3 separate regions of the Homo sapiens genome follow, and regions 1 and 2 are each linked to region 3. The links are contacts of gene promoters, found by promoter capture Hi-C in blood cells and fetal thymus (Javierre and others, 2016). All regions are on one chromosome and are shown on one strand. The core of a region is centred on a gene start or on the middle of the fragment in contact, and the rest is flanking DNA. Distances in the headings are between cores, read along the strand shown.

Region 1 (4,347 bases), core at 724-3,223, 230 kb after region 3:
ACTGGGTATTGGGGCTACAGAGAAGGACATGTCCAGGATACTGTGTCCTCAAGTAAAAGTCATATATATATAGCATATTTAGGTGTGAATAGCATCCAAAATTAAGTTCCGTCAACAAGAAGCTTATATTACTGATGTGCCTACTCTTGCATCCTGCCATCCTTCCCTCAGCCCCCCACCAGGGCTCATGGGAAAGTCTGCATGACCAGCTGTCTGAGGAGCTCGTATCCAGATGGAGCAACACGATATGAGCAGCTGAAATCGGCTGTTACAGCTTTGCAGCTTCCTTCACAGAAGGCCCTGACAGAGGAGCAGAGCTTCCCATGGCATGTCTTGGGTCCAGTCTGCCCAGAAGAGATGGCATGAGGTATCAATCACACTGATTCATGGGCAGCAGCAACTACTGAGCTAAACCATTGGGAAGACGCTTTATGGGCACATATCATGGACTATCTGACCCAACTGAAAGACAGCTTGCAGTACAAGCCTCTACTCACAAAGAATCAGAACTTACATTGACCAGCACAGACAAAGGAGGAAGAAGACTGAGGAGCTGGCAGCAGGTGGCTGGGAAGAGGCATATGGGTGGATTTCTTGAACCAGGAGTAAGACAGATACGGTGTCCATCTGAATGCTTACTGGAGAGAAGGCTCTCAAAAACCAGGTGGACATGATAAATCACCCTATGAATGCTTGTCTCACTCTCTCCACAGTAGCCCAGAGGTTGTTTAGTGGGCTCATTAGCAAAGTGACCACAGTGGTAGAAGTACAACATGGGCAGCCTCCCTGCACAGAGCTCAGCTATTTCCCAACACAGTGGAGTGTCAACTTGCTAGGAACAACAATCGATTTGGAGGGACCGCCTGCTACATAATAACCGGTTAATTACACTCAATCCCTTCTATCATGACAGGATACCATTTTATCCTCACTAGAAGATATGCCTACTCAGGTTTGGTTTTGTCTTCACTGTCTGCCAGTAACACTGCATATGTCCGTAAACCCACTAAGTAATACATTTGGATACTTTAGGGCATGTAGACCACAAAATGGGTAGTAACCACTTGTAGAAATGAGAAGTCTAATAATTATGCATACTTCTTCCTCTCTCGGTGTGGCAAGTATATATTTATGCATGTTAACTAATTTCCTTTCTCCATTTCCCCAGTTTTAGATAGGGTCTATTGGTGATATTAGCCTTGCAATTCATTCTATAGGTTACAGGATCCCAGAATTCTAAGACAGAACACTGCCTAAATTAGAGAAAGAAAGAACGATCACCCTGAGAACCTGCACTGGTGGAACCAACTGCAGAAACAAACGAGATTTTGGGACTGCCCTCTAGGTAGAGTGAGACCCTCATTATTTCTATACGGGAGAGCTGTATGATGGTGTAAATAAATTGTTGCTGCTGTTGTTTGGAAATGTAAGGGGGGTTTATGTTGACACAGAACACACAAACATGCAGCTGAAATAGCAGCATTTGTGCTGAACTGTCTAGTAGCTGCCCTCCTCCCTGTGTTACTTCCAGGTGGGTAGGAAGCAGCCAAACATGTTCTGCTTAGAAAGCCTCGCCTGGATTCTGTCATCTGCAACTGAGCTCTCAACTCTTGTAGCATTACAAGAAACAAAGGAGGTACTATACATGCAGAAATGGTTTGAGAAAGTATAGAAACATCTACAGAAGGCATAATTTTCCATTTTATAGTTTAAGATTCAGAAAATGATGAGTCAGAAGATACATTCAATGTGCCAGGAGGGCAATACTCAAAAATAATGGAATTACATACACTGAAATTATGCCCAAGATATAGGCTAAGTATACTTATGGTTGAGAAGTGACGGAAAAAAATTCACAAAAGGTAACGGTTCGGAGAGAGTGAACACTAATATCCTTAGTAGGGAAGCCCGGGTGGCACTGCTAGTGTTGTCACTAGATGACCACAGATCAGTGCAGTTGAAATGCTGCTGTACCGAATAGGAACAGCTCCAGTCTACAGCTCCCAGCGTGACCAACGCAGAAGACCGGGGATTTCTGCATTTCCAACTGAGGTATCGCACTGGGGAGTATCGGAAAGTGGGCGCAGCGGACCGAGCATGAGCCGAAGCAGGGCGAGGCACTGCCTCACCCGGGAAGCGCAAGGGGTCAGGGAATTCCCTTTCCTAGTCAAAGAAAGGGGTGACAGATGGCACCTGGAAAATTGGGTCACTCCCACCCTAATACTGCGCTTTTCCAATGGTCATAGCATATGGCACACCAGGAGATTATATCCCGCACATGGCTTGGAGGGTCCTATGCCCACAGAGCCCTGCTCATTGCTAGCACAGCAGTCTGAGATCAAGCTGCAAGGCGGCAGCGAGGCTTGGGGAGAGGCGCCCGCCATTGCTGAGGCTTGGGTAGGTAAACAAAGTGGCGGGGAAGCTCGAACTGGGTGGAGCCCACCGCAGCTCAAGGAGGCCTGCCTGCCTGCCTCTGTAGCCTCCACCTCTGGGGGCAGGACATAGCCAAACAAAAGACAGCAGAATCCTTTGCAGACTGAAATGTCCCTGTCTGACAGCCTTGAAGGGAGTAGTGGTTCTCCCAGCACTCAGATGGAGATCTGAGAATGGACAGACTGCCTCCTCAAGTGGGTCTCTGACCCCTGAGTAGCCTAACTGGGAGGCACCCTTCAGTAGGGGCAGACTGACACCTCACACGGCCGGGTACTCCGCTGAGACAAAACTTCCAGAGAAACGATCAGGCAGCAACATTTGCTGTTCACCAATATCAGCCACTCTGCAGCGTCTGCTGCTGATATCCAGGCAAACAGGGTCTGGAGTGGACCTCCGGCAAACTCCAACAGACCTGCAGCTGAGGGTCCTGACTGTTAGAAGGAAAACTAACAGAAAGGATATCCACTCCAAAACCCCATCTGTACGTCACTATCATCAAAGACACAAAGGTAGATAAAACCACAAAGATGGAGAAAAAACAGAGCAGAAAAACTGGAAACTCTAAAAATCAGAGTGCCTCTCCTCCTCCAAAGGAACACAGCTCCTCACCAGCAATGGAACAAAGCTGGACGGAGAATGACTTTGACGAGTTGAGAGAAGAAGGCTTCAGATGATCAAACTACTCCGAGCTAAAGGAGGAAGTTTGCACCCATGGCAAAGAAGTTAAAAACCTTGAAAAAAGATTAGACGAATGGCTAACTAGAATAACCAATGCAGAGAAGTCCTTAAAGGACCTCATGGAGCTGAAAACCAAGGCACGAGAACTATGTGACAAATGCACAAGCCTCAGTAGCCGATTCGATCAACTAGAAGAAAGGGTATCAGTGATAGAAGATCAAATGAATGAAATGAAGTGAGAAGAGAAGTTTAGAGAAAAAAGAAAAAAAAGAAACGAACAAAGCCTCCAAGAAATATGGGACTATGTGAAAAGACCAAATCTATGTCTGACTGGTGTACCTCAAAGTGACGAGGAGAATGGAACCAAGCTGGAAAACACTCTGCAGGATATTATCCAGGAGAACTTCCCCAATCTAGCAAGGCAGGCCAACATTCAAATTCAGGAAATACAGAGAACGCCACAAAGACACTCCTCGAGAAGAGCAACTCCAAGACACATAATTGTCAGATTCACCAAGGTTGAAATGGAGGAAAAAACGTTAACAGCACCCAGAGAGAAAGGTGAGGTTACCCACAAAGGGAAGCCCATCAGACTAACAGCTGGTCTCTCGGCAGAAACTCTACAAGCCAGAAGAGAGTGGGGGCCAATATTCAACATTCTTAAAGAAAAGAATTTTCAACCCAGAATTTCATATCCAGCCAAACTAAGCTTCATGAGTGAAGGAGAAATAAAATCCTTTACAGACAAACAAATGCTGAGAGATTTTGTCACCACCAGGCCTGCCCTAAAAGAGCTCCTGAAGGAAGCACTAAACATGGAAAGGAACAACCGGTACCAGCCACTGCAAAAACATGCCAAATTGTAAAGACTATAGATGGTAGGAAGAAAATGCATTAACTAATGAGCAAAATAACCACCTAACATCATAAAGACAGGATCAAATTCACACATAACAATATTAACCTTAAATGTGAATGGGCTAAATGCGCCAATTAAAAGACACAGACTGGCAAATTGGATAGAGTCGAGACCCATCAGTGTGCTGTATTGAGGAAACCCATCTCACGTGCAGAGACACACATAGGCTCAAAATAAACGGATGGAGGAAGATCTACCAAGCAAATGGAAAACAAAAAACGGCAGGGGTTGCAATCCTAGTGTCTGATAAAACAGACTTTAAACCAACAAAGATCAAAAGAGACAAAGAAGGCCATTACATAATGGTAAAGGGATCA
Region 2 (4,206 bases), core at 11-2,510, 170 kb after region 3:
TTTTTTCTAGTACATTTACTGAGCACTCACTACATACAAGAGATTACTTGGTACACCAATGGTTAGAAATGACAACAGAACCAACTTAAAAGTAAGCTTGATCTATTAGAAGAGGGAAAGCATAATATAATGTTATTATATTTATTTAATACAGTGTTCTCTCATCCACGGTTTTGTTTTTTGTGGTTTCAGTTATCCTCAGAACACCAAGGTACGAAAATAGGTGAGCACAGTACAATAAGATATTTTAGGAGACCACATTCACATAATTTTTATCACAGTATATTGTTATAATTGTTCTACTTTATTATTGTTGTTGTTAATCTTTACTTTGCCTTATTTATAAATTAACCTTTATCACAGGTATGTATGCATAGGCAAAAACAGTTTATACAAGGTTGAGTACTATGTATCCACTGGAGGTATTGGAATATATCCTCCTTGAATAAGGCGGCACTAGTATAATGTTTAATAATGGCAATTATGCTTATTGCTATAATGTTTGTATTTTATATATTAATTAAATTTGCATTTTATAAATTACTTTCCTTAAGTTACCTCATTTGATTCTTGTAACAATTCTGGGAGGGAAGTAGGATATATATGATTCTATTTTTCATTTTATTTCATTATTATTTTATTTCCTCCTCCCCCTGAGCTTTATTGAAATAAAATTGGCAAATAAAAATCAAATACATATAAGAGGGACACAATGTGATGTCTGAAGTACGTATAGAGTGTGAAATGACTGCCACAGCATTAACATCTCCATCTACTCACATGTTCTATGTGTATGCTTACAATACTTAAGATCCACTCTCTCAGCAAATGTCAAATATACATTAACTGTAGATACCATGCTGTCCGTTAGGTCTCCAGAACTTACTCATCTTATAAATGAAAGTTTGGACCCCTTAACTAATATCTCTCCATTTCTCCCACCCTCAAGCCCTGGTACACCCTTCTACTCTGTTTCTACGAGTTCAACTTTTTTTTTTTTTGAGACAGAGTCTCGCTCCGTAGCCCAAGCTGGAGTGCCGTGGTGCGATCTCGGCTCACTGCAACTTCTGCCTCCCGGGTTCAAGCAATTCTCCTGTCTCAGCTTCCCGAGTAGCTGGGACTACAGGCGCCCACCACTACACCTGGCTAATTTTTGTATTTTTAGTAGAGACGGGGTTTCACCATATTGGCCAGGCTGGTTTCGAACTCCTGACCTTGTGATCCGCCCACCTAGGCCTTCCAAAGTGCTGGGATTATAGGCGTGAGCCACCACACCCGGCTAAAACCTTTCATCTTAATCATTACTCTTATTGTATATCTTCTTTGCAGAAAGAATCTTTTCAGATTCTTTGCCCATTTTAAAAATTAGGTTGTCTTTTTATTACTGAGTGGTAAGAATTTTTTATATATTCTCTATGTAACTCTCTTATCAAATATATGATCTGCATATACTCCCCTCCATTCTGTGGGTTAACTTTTCACTTTCTTGATAGTGTCTTTTGAAGCACAAAAGTTCTTAATCTTGATGATGTGCAATATTTTTTTCCTTTTATTGCTTATGCTTTTAGTGTCATACCTAAGAATCCATCACCACATTCAAGGTCAGGAAGATTTCTTCTTGTGTTTTATTCTAGGAGTTTTATACTTTTGGCTCTTACATTTAGGTCTCTGATTCATTTTGAGTTAATTTTTGTATATGTTTAAGGTAAAGATCTCTATTATTTTGCATGTGGATATCTGGTAGTCCCAGCACCATCTGTGGAAGACCATTATTCTTTCCCCCTTGAATGATCTTGGTACCTTTGTTGAAAATCAACTGACCATAGAGGGGTTTAGAGGGCTTTCTAATACATTTCATTGGTCGACATGTTTATCTTTATGTCAACACTGTCTTGAATACTGTAGCTTTGTAGCACTTTTTTAAATTGGAAAGGGTGAGTCCTATAACTTTCTTCTTTTTCAAGGCTGTTTTGGCTATTCTGGGTCTCTTGGGTTTACATATGAATTCCCATGATCATCTTGTTAATTCTACAAAGAAGCCAGATGGGATTCTAATAGGAATCATGTTGAATCTACAGATCAATTTGGTGAGTATTGCCTTCTTAACCCTATTAATCTCTTTCAACATTGTTTTGTAGTTTTCAGAGTGTATTACACTTGTTTTATTAAATTTATTTCTAAGTATTTTATTCCTTTTGGTGCCACTGTAAATAAAATTGGTTTAATTTCATTTTCAGATTGTTCATTGCATTGTACAGAAATACAGCTGATTTTTCTATACTGACCTTGTACCCTGCAACCTTGCTAAGCTCATTACTTCTATCAGTTCTTTTTAGTGAATTCCTTAGGATTTTCTACATTTGAAATCATGTCATCTGTGAATAGAGAAAATTTCACTTCTTCCTTTCCAACATGGAAGCTTTTTAATTCCTTTTCTTGCCTAATTGTCCTGGGTAGAAACTCCAGTACAATATTCAACAGAAGTGGTAAAAATGGATATCCTTCTCTTATTCTATTGTAACTGGAAAATATACTCTGTAAGACCTGAATATTTTAACTTATTAAGACTTGTTTGATGGTTTAACAAATAATCTATCCTGGAAAATGTTCCATGTGCACTTGACAAGAATGGGTATTATGTTGTTAGGTGGGAATATTCTGCACGTCTGTTAGGTTTAATTGCTTTACAGTGTTGTTCAAGTCCAATATTTCCTACTGATCTTCTTTCTAGTTGTTCTAATCCCTATTGAAAGTGGGAGTAATTAAGTCTCTAATTATTATTTTAGAACTGTCTATTTCTCCCTTTGACTCTGTCAATTTTTACTTCTTATATTCTGGGGCACCTTTGTTAGGTGTATATATATCTGTTATCTCTTCTTGCTGTATTGAACCTTTTAATTAATATATAGTGTCCTTTATCTCTTGTAACTGCTTTTGATTTAAAGTTTATTTTATCTACAATGATATACCTATCTTGGTTCTCTTTTAGTTAATATTTGCATAGAATATCTTTTTCCATCTTTTAACTTTCAACCCCTTCTGTCCTCATATGTAAAGTATGTCTCTTGTAGACAGCATATAGATGAATCCTGTTTTTTTAAATGTAATCTTCTAATCTCTATCTTTTCATAGTTGAATTTCATCCATTTACATTTTTTCCATTTTTAATTGTTATCCATTTACATTCAATGTGATTACTGATAAAGAAGGATTTATGCCTGCTCTCCACTCCATGTTTGGGCTTTAACAGTTTGACTCTAATATATCTTGGCATTAATCTCATAGTGTTTATCTTGCTTGGAGTACATTGAGCTCATGGTGGCATATATTCAGTTCTTTCCTTTTGGCGGGGATGTTTTGCTCCATTATTTCTTTAAATATTTTTTCTGCCCCTTTCTCTTTCTCTTCTGATACGTGAAAATCCTCTTTGCTCACCCTGGCTCCAGTGTGCTGCACCAGGAAGGCTTGTGGACTGACAGCTGCCTGCCATGAGGTTGAGGGTGGAAGATGGTAGCTGCTACAATGTGAAAGCTGAACTTGACCATGATTTTCTGAAATTTACCAGAGACTTTGCCCCTGGATGCTACAAGTGTTCTTCTATACTCAGAGTTCCAAAATAGTTGTCTCACACAGTTCCTTACACAATTAATTCAATTGTTTTGGTGAAGGCACAATTTCCTGGAGCTTTCTACTCTGCCATCTACCCTGATACCATTCCAATAACAACTAATATTTACTGAGTACTTAGTCTGTGCCAAGTATTGTTCTAACACTTTTCATCTTCATATTGGCCCTATAAAGAAGTGTATTACGAAGATCTCCATTTTACAGATAAACCGAGGTAGATTAATGAGCCTAATCAAAGAGATGAGGAATGGTTGATCCAGGACACAAACAAGGTAGATTCATGCTCGTAACTACCAAACTCTCCATATATTAATATATATTTCTATAAAGTGGGAAAATGCCTTAAAAAATCATCAAGGCATGTTATACATTTTGAAAATAAGAAAATAGGCCAGGAGTGATGTCTCATGCCTGTAATCCCAGAACTCTGGGAGGCTGGCGGGGAGGTTTGCTTGAGCCCAGGAGTTCAAAGCCAGTATGAGACCGCCATCTCTACATAAAAATTATTTAAACATTTCTAGGTGTGGTGGCACATGCCTATGGTCCCAGCTACTTGGGAGGCTGAGGCAGGAGGATGCT
Region 3 (3,964 bases), core at 469-2,968:
AGCTTGGTGTTCCGACGCAGATCTGGTGAGAGGCCTGCGCAGGAAGAGACTCGACATGGAGCAGGTGTGACTAGCGATAGTGATTTAATGGATTTGGGCCCGACATGGTGGCTCACGCCTGTAATCCCAGCACTTTGGGAGGCTGAGGCCGGCGAATCTCTTAAGCCCAGGAGTTTGAAACCAGCCTGGACAATATTGTGAGATCCCATCTCAATTTTTTTTTTGAGATGGAGTCTCGCTCTGTCGCCCAGGCTGGAGTGCAATGGAACGATCTCGGCTCACTGCAACCTCCGCCTCCCGGGTTCAAGCGATTCTCCTGCCTCAGCCTCCCGAGTAGCTGGGATTACAGGCGCACGCCACTACGCTTGGCTAATTTTTGTATTTTTAGTAGAAATGGGGTTTCACCATGTTGACCAGGCTGGTTTCAAACTCCTGACCTCAAGTGATCCGCCCACCTCAGCCTCCCAAAATGCTGGGATTACCGGCATGAGCCACTGTGCTCGGCTGAAAAAAACCATATTTTTAATTTAAAATAATAAATGGGTCTGACCAGAAATGCCTGCCTCAAATTGCAGGACACATGACAAAGCCCATTCTTACTTAAGACATTTTCAGTGTGCGATGGGTCTACCGGGATGTAACCCCATCGTGAGTCGAGGCCCATCTGCACCCTGCTATAGCTACTGGTAGATCTTACCTGTTTCCCAAAAAGGACCCAACTACTTTAGGTTCAAGGCACTTTTTTGGAATATTTAACAGGGAAAGAGCCTGGAACTAAAAACAGGTCTAACGCAAGATGCCGCCACACGATGGCACTGCTTCCGTAGACCTGGAAGAAACGCGGGCGCGGGAGCTGGCGGCGGACGCCCGGGTCTGCGGGGTCGGGGAGTAGCGTCCGGCCGGAGAGCCCGCACCTCGAGGAGCCGGCGGAGGACGCGGTGTCGTGACCGCGTCTCCCCCATCTGCTCTGCTTTTGGCGACAGCGTCCCGTCGGCCTTTCGGCCAGGACGCAGCAGCCGCGTCTCTGGGCCTCGACCCCCAGGGCCGGCCGGACCCGGGACCTCCGAGGAGAGCAGCGAGAACCGGCCCGGATTCCCCGAGGCGCCCGAGTGCGGTGCGGGCAGCCCTCCCCGCCTGCCAGGCCGCCGCTGTCCCCACGTCTGGTCCCCCACGCCTCTTCCCGCATCTGGTCCCACGGTGGAGGCGCGGGGCGAGGGCCTCACGCGCGTGCCCACGGTCGGGGGGCGTCCTTGGACGCGCGGGTCCTCTCCCACGGGTCTCCACCCCCCGCCCTCCGGCGACAGGAGCCGGCCTGGGACGCGCGCGCTGCGGCCAAGTCCTGGTTTTGATTTCACTCCCAACCCCGAGGAGCGAGGAGGTTCCAAGCCCACAAACAGGAAGAAGAGAAGGCCCTGGAGTGCTGGCAGAGGGAGTGTCATTCCCAGCAGCGCAGCGCAGGCCGGCCCGGGCCGGGGAGGGAGCAGCAGCGCGGGCACCCTCCTGCAACGTGGGCTGGGGGTCCCCAGGGCCGGGGAGGGGGCCCCGGGGAGGAACTGAGAGGGGGCGCGCCCCGGGAAGGCTCGGGGCGGCTCCGGGGGGCTCCCAGGGCGCCCCCGCCCCTTCCCCCGCGGCCCCGGGGCGCCCCCGCGGTGCCGGAGTCGGGGCGGGGCGTGCACGTCAGCCGGGGCTAGAAAAGGCGGCGGGGCTGGGCCCAGCGAGGTGACAGCCTCGCTTGGACGCAGAGCCCGGCCCGACGCCGCCATGAGCGCCGCGCTCTTCAGCCTGGACGGCCCGGCGCGCGGCGCGCCCTGGCCTGCGGAGCCTGCGCCCTTCTACGAACCGGGCCGGGCGGGCAAGCCGGGCCGCGGGGCCGAGCCAGGGGCCCTAGGCGAGCCAGGCGCCGCCGCCCCCGCCATGTACGACGACGAGAGCGCCATCGACTTCAGCGCCTACATCGACTCCATGGCCGCCGTGCCCACCCTGGAGCTGTGCCACGACGAGCTCTTCGCCGACCTCTTCAACAGCAATCACAAGGCGGGCGGCGCGGGGCCCCTGGAGCTTCTTCCCGGCGGCCCCGCGCGCCCCTTGGGCCCGGGCCCTGCCGCTCCCCGCCTGCTCAAGCGCGAGCCCGACTGGGGCGACGGCGACGCGCCCGGCTCGCTGTTGCCCGCGCAGGTGGCCGCGTGCGCACAGACCGTGGTGAGCTTGGCGGCCGCAGGGCAGCCCACCCCGCCCACGTCGCCGGAGCCGCCGCGCAGCAGCCCCAGGCAGACCCCCGCGCCCGGCCCCGCCCGGGAGAAGAGCGCCGGCAAGAGGGGCCCGGACCGCGGCAGCCCCGAGTACCGGCAGCGGCGCGAGCGCAACAACATCGCCGTGCGCAAGAGCCGCGACAAGGCCAAGCGGCGCAACCAGGAGATGCAGCAGAAGTTGGTGGAGCTGTCGGCTGAGAACGAGAAGCTGCACCAGCGCGTGGAGCAGCTCACGCGGGACCTGGCCGGCCTCCGGCAGTTCTTCAAGCAGCTGCCCAGCCCGCCCTTCCTGCCGGCCGCCGGGACAGCAGACTGCCGGTAACGCGCGGCCGGGGCGGGAGAGACTCAGCAACGACCCATACCTCAGACCCGACGGCCCGGAGCGGAGCGCGCCCTGCCCTGGCGCAGCCAGAGCCGCCGGGTGCCCGCTGCAGTTTCTTGGGACATAGGAGCGCAAAGAAGCTACAGCCTGGACTTACCACCACTAAACTGCGAGAGAAGCTAAACGTGTTTATTTTCCCTTAAATTATTTTTGTAATGGTAGCTTTTTCTACATCTTACTCCTGTTGATGCAGCTAAGGTACATTTGTAAAAAGAAAAAAAACCAGACTTTTCAGACAAACCCTTTGTATTGTAGATAAGAGGAAAAGACTGAGCATGCTCACTTTTTTATATTAATTTTTACAGTATTTGTAAGAATAAAGCAGCATTTGAAATCGCCCCTGCTTCCTATATTCGCAGTGACTCCCGCCCGCCCGCCGGTGGCGCAGGACCCGGCTCGGGAAGGGTGCGTTCCGGACCCGCAGCCAGCGAGCACCAGGGAGCCCGGGCGCCAGGTGTGTGTGTGGGGGGGGCGGGGGGATGGGGCGCAGGCCCGAGCTACTCAGGAGAGAGGGTCTGTCGCTTTTAAAACGCATTAAAGGCTCTCTCCTGGCCTTATTTAACTTGCCTAAGCTAGGTGGAGCACGGCTGAGCTCAGGTAAGCTAGCAGCTTTCCAGCAGAAGGTGTTCTCCCGAAGAACGCAGACCTGGGGAAGGGTTGACTTTTTGGGGGCCCCTGCTGAGAACAGTTCAAGAGCTCCCTAACTGTAGAGGCTGCTGGAGGGGCGAGGGGCAGAACCCCGGGCTGAATCATCTCCCGCTTTCCCGGGACTTTGCTTTCACTTTCCTCAGTCTTGTGGACAGAGTCAAGTAGATTTTCAAAAGTGCTCCAGAAAGGCCGGAATAGTCATGTAGTGGATGAAAAGGGCAGTCACAAAACTGCTTAAGACCAGCTGTCTTGCCAGTAATTGCAGTGCTTTAAGATTTAATTAAAAAGCCGCCTGCCTTTAACCCAAGAACACTTGGTATTAGGGCACCATGTCTTGGTCACGGCTGCTACGTGTATCTGATGTAGTTAACCATGGCCTGTCATGATTATATTGCTATAAGGAAGGGAACAAAATCTTTATAGTGTCCAAAGATAATTAATTCTTGGTTTAAATCTTTGCCAGCAAAGCAAATATCCGACTGACTGCTCCTTAGTCTGTGATCTTTGCTCTCCGTGCACATTACCCAGCCTAATTAAAACAGGTGTGTGTGGTGGAGCCAGCTATCCCCACCACCATTCAGCAGAGACACGATCACACCAGTTCAGAGAGCTACACTTTATGGGTAACAGTTTCACCTGTGATACAGTTCCCTAGAACATTTTCCCAAAAGTAGTGAACTGCAAA

Evidence for each region. Contacts are between HindIII fragments. The CHiCAGO score rates a contact against its expected background, and 5 or more counts as called.
Region 1: a fragment that was not itself captured here is called in contact with the fragment with the promoter of CEBPD in region 3 in 2 of 17 cell types (neutrophils and monocytes); the score reaches 9.9 in neutrophils.
Region 2: a contact is called between a fragment that was not itself captured here and the fragment with the promoter of CEBPD in region 3, in 2 of 17 cell types (neutrophils and monocytes). The highest score is 6.5, in neutrophils.

Annotation. Positions count from the first base shown.
Region 1 is chr8:47,503,369-47,507,715 of GRCh38, reverse strand. All of the region lies in intron 8 of SPIDR (scaffold protein involved in DNA repair), which reads right to left. Among named protein-coding and RNA genes, the nearest start is that of CEBPD, 230 kb to the left of the region's middle. The HindIII fragment of the contact is 3,698 bases long and covers 125-3,822 here.
Region 2 is chr8:47,567,886-47,572,091 of GRCh38, reverse strand. All of the region lies in intron 8 of SPIDR (scaffold protein involved in DNA repair), which reads right to left. Among named protein-coding and RNA genes, the nearest start is that of CEBPD, 170 kb to the left of the region's middle. The HindIII fragment of the contact is 2,323 bases long and covers 99-2,421 here.
Region 3 is chr8:47,735,918-47,739,881 of GRCh38, reverse strand. It overlaps CEBPD (CCAAT enhancer binding protein delta), which reads left to right and starts at 1,718. Exons shown (of 1, transcript NM_005195.4): 1 at 1,718-2,969. The coding sequence starts at 1,762. The coding sequence ends at 2,571. SPIDR (scaffold protein involved in DNA repair) reads right to left here. Exons shown (of 20, transcript NM_001080394.4): 20 at 3,576-3,964. RefSeq lists silencers at 890-1,359, 1,450-1,529, 1,570-1,679, 2,170-2,359 and an enhancer at 1,756-2,694. The HindIII fragment of the contact is 19,422 bases long and covers 1-3,964 here.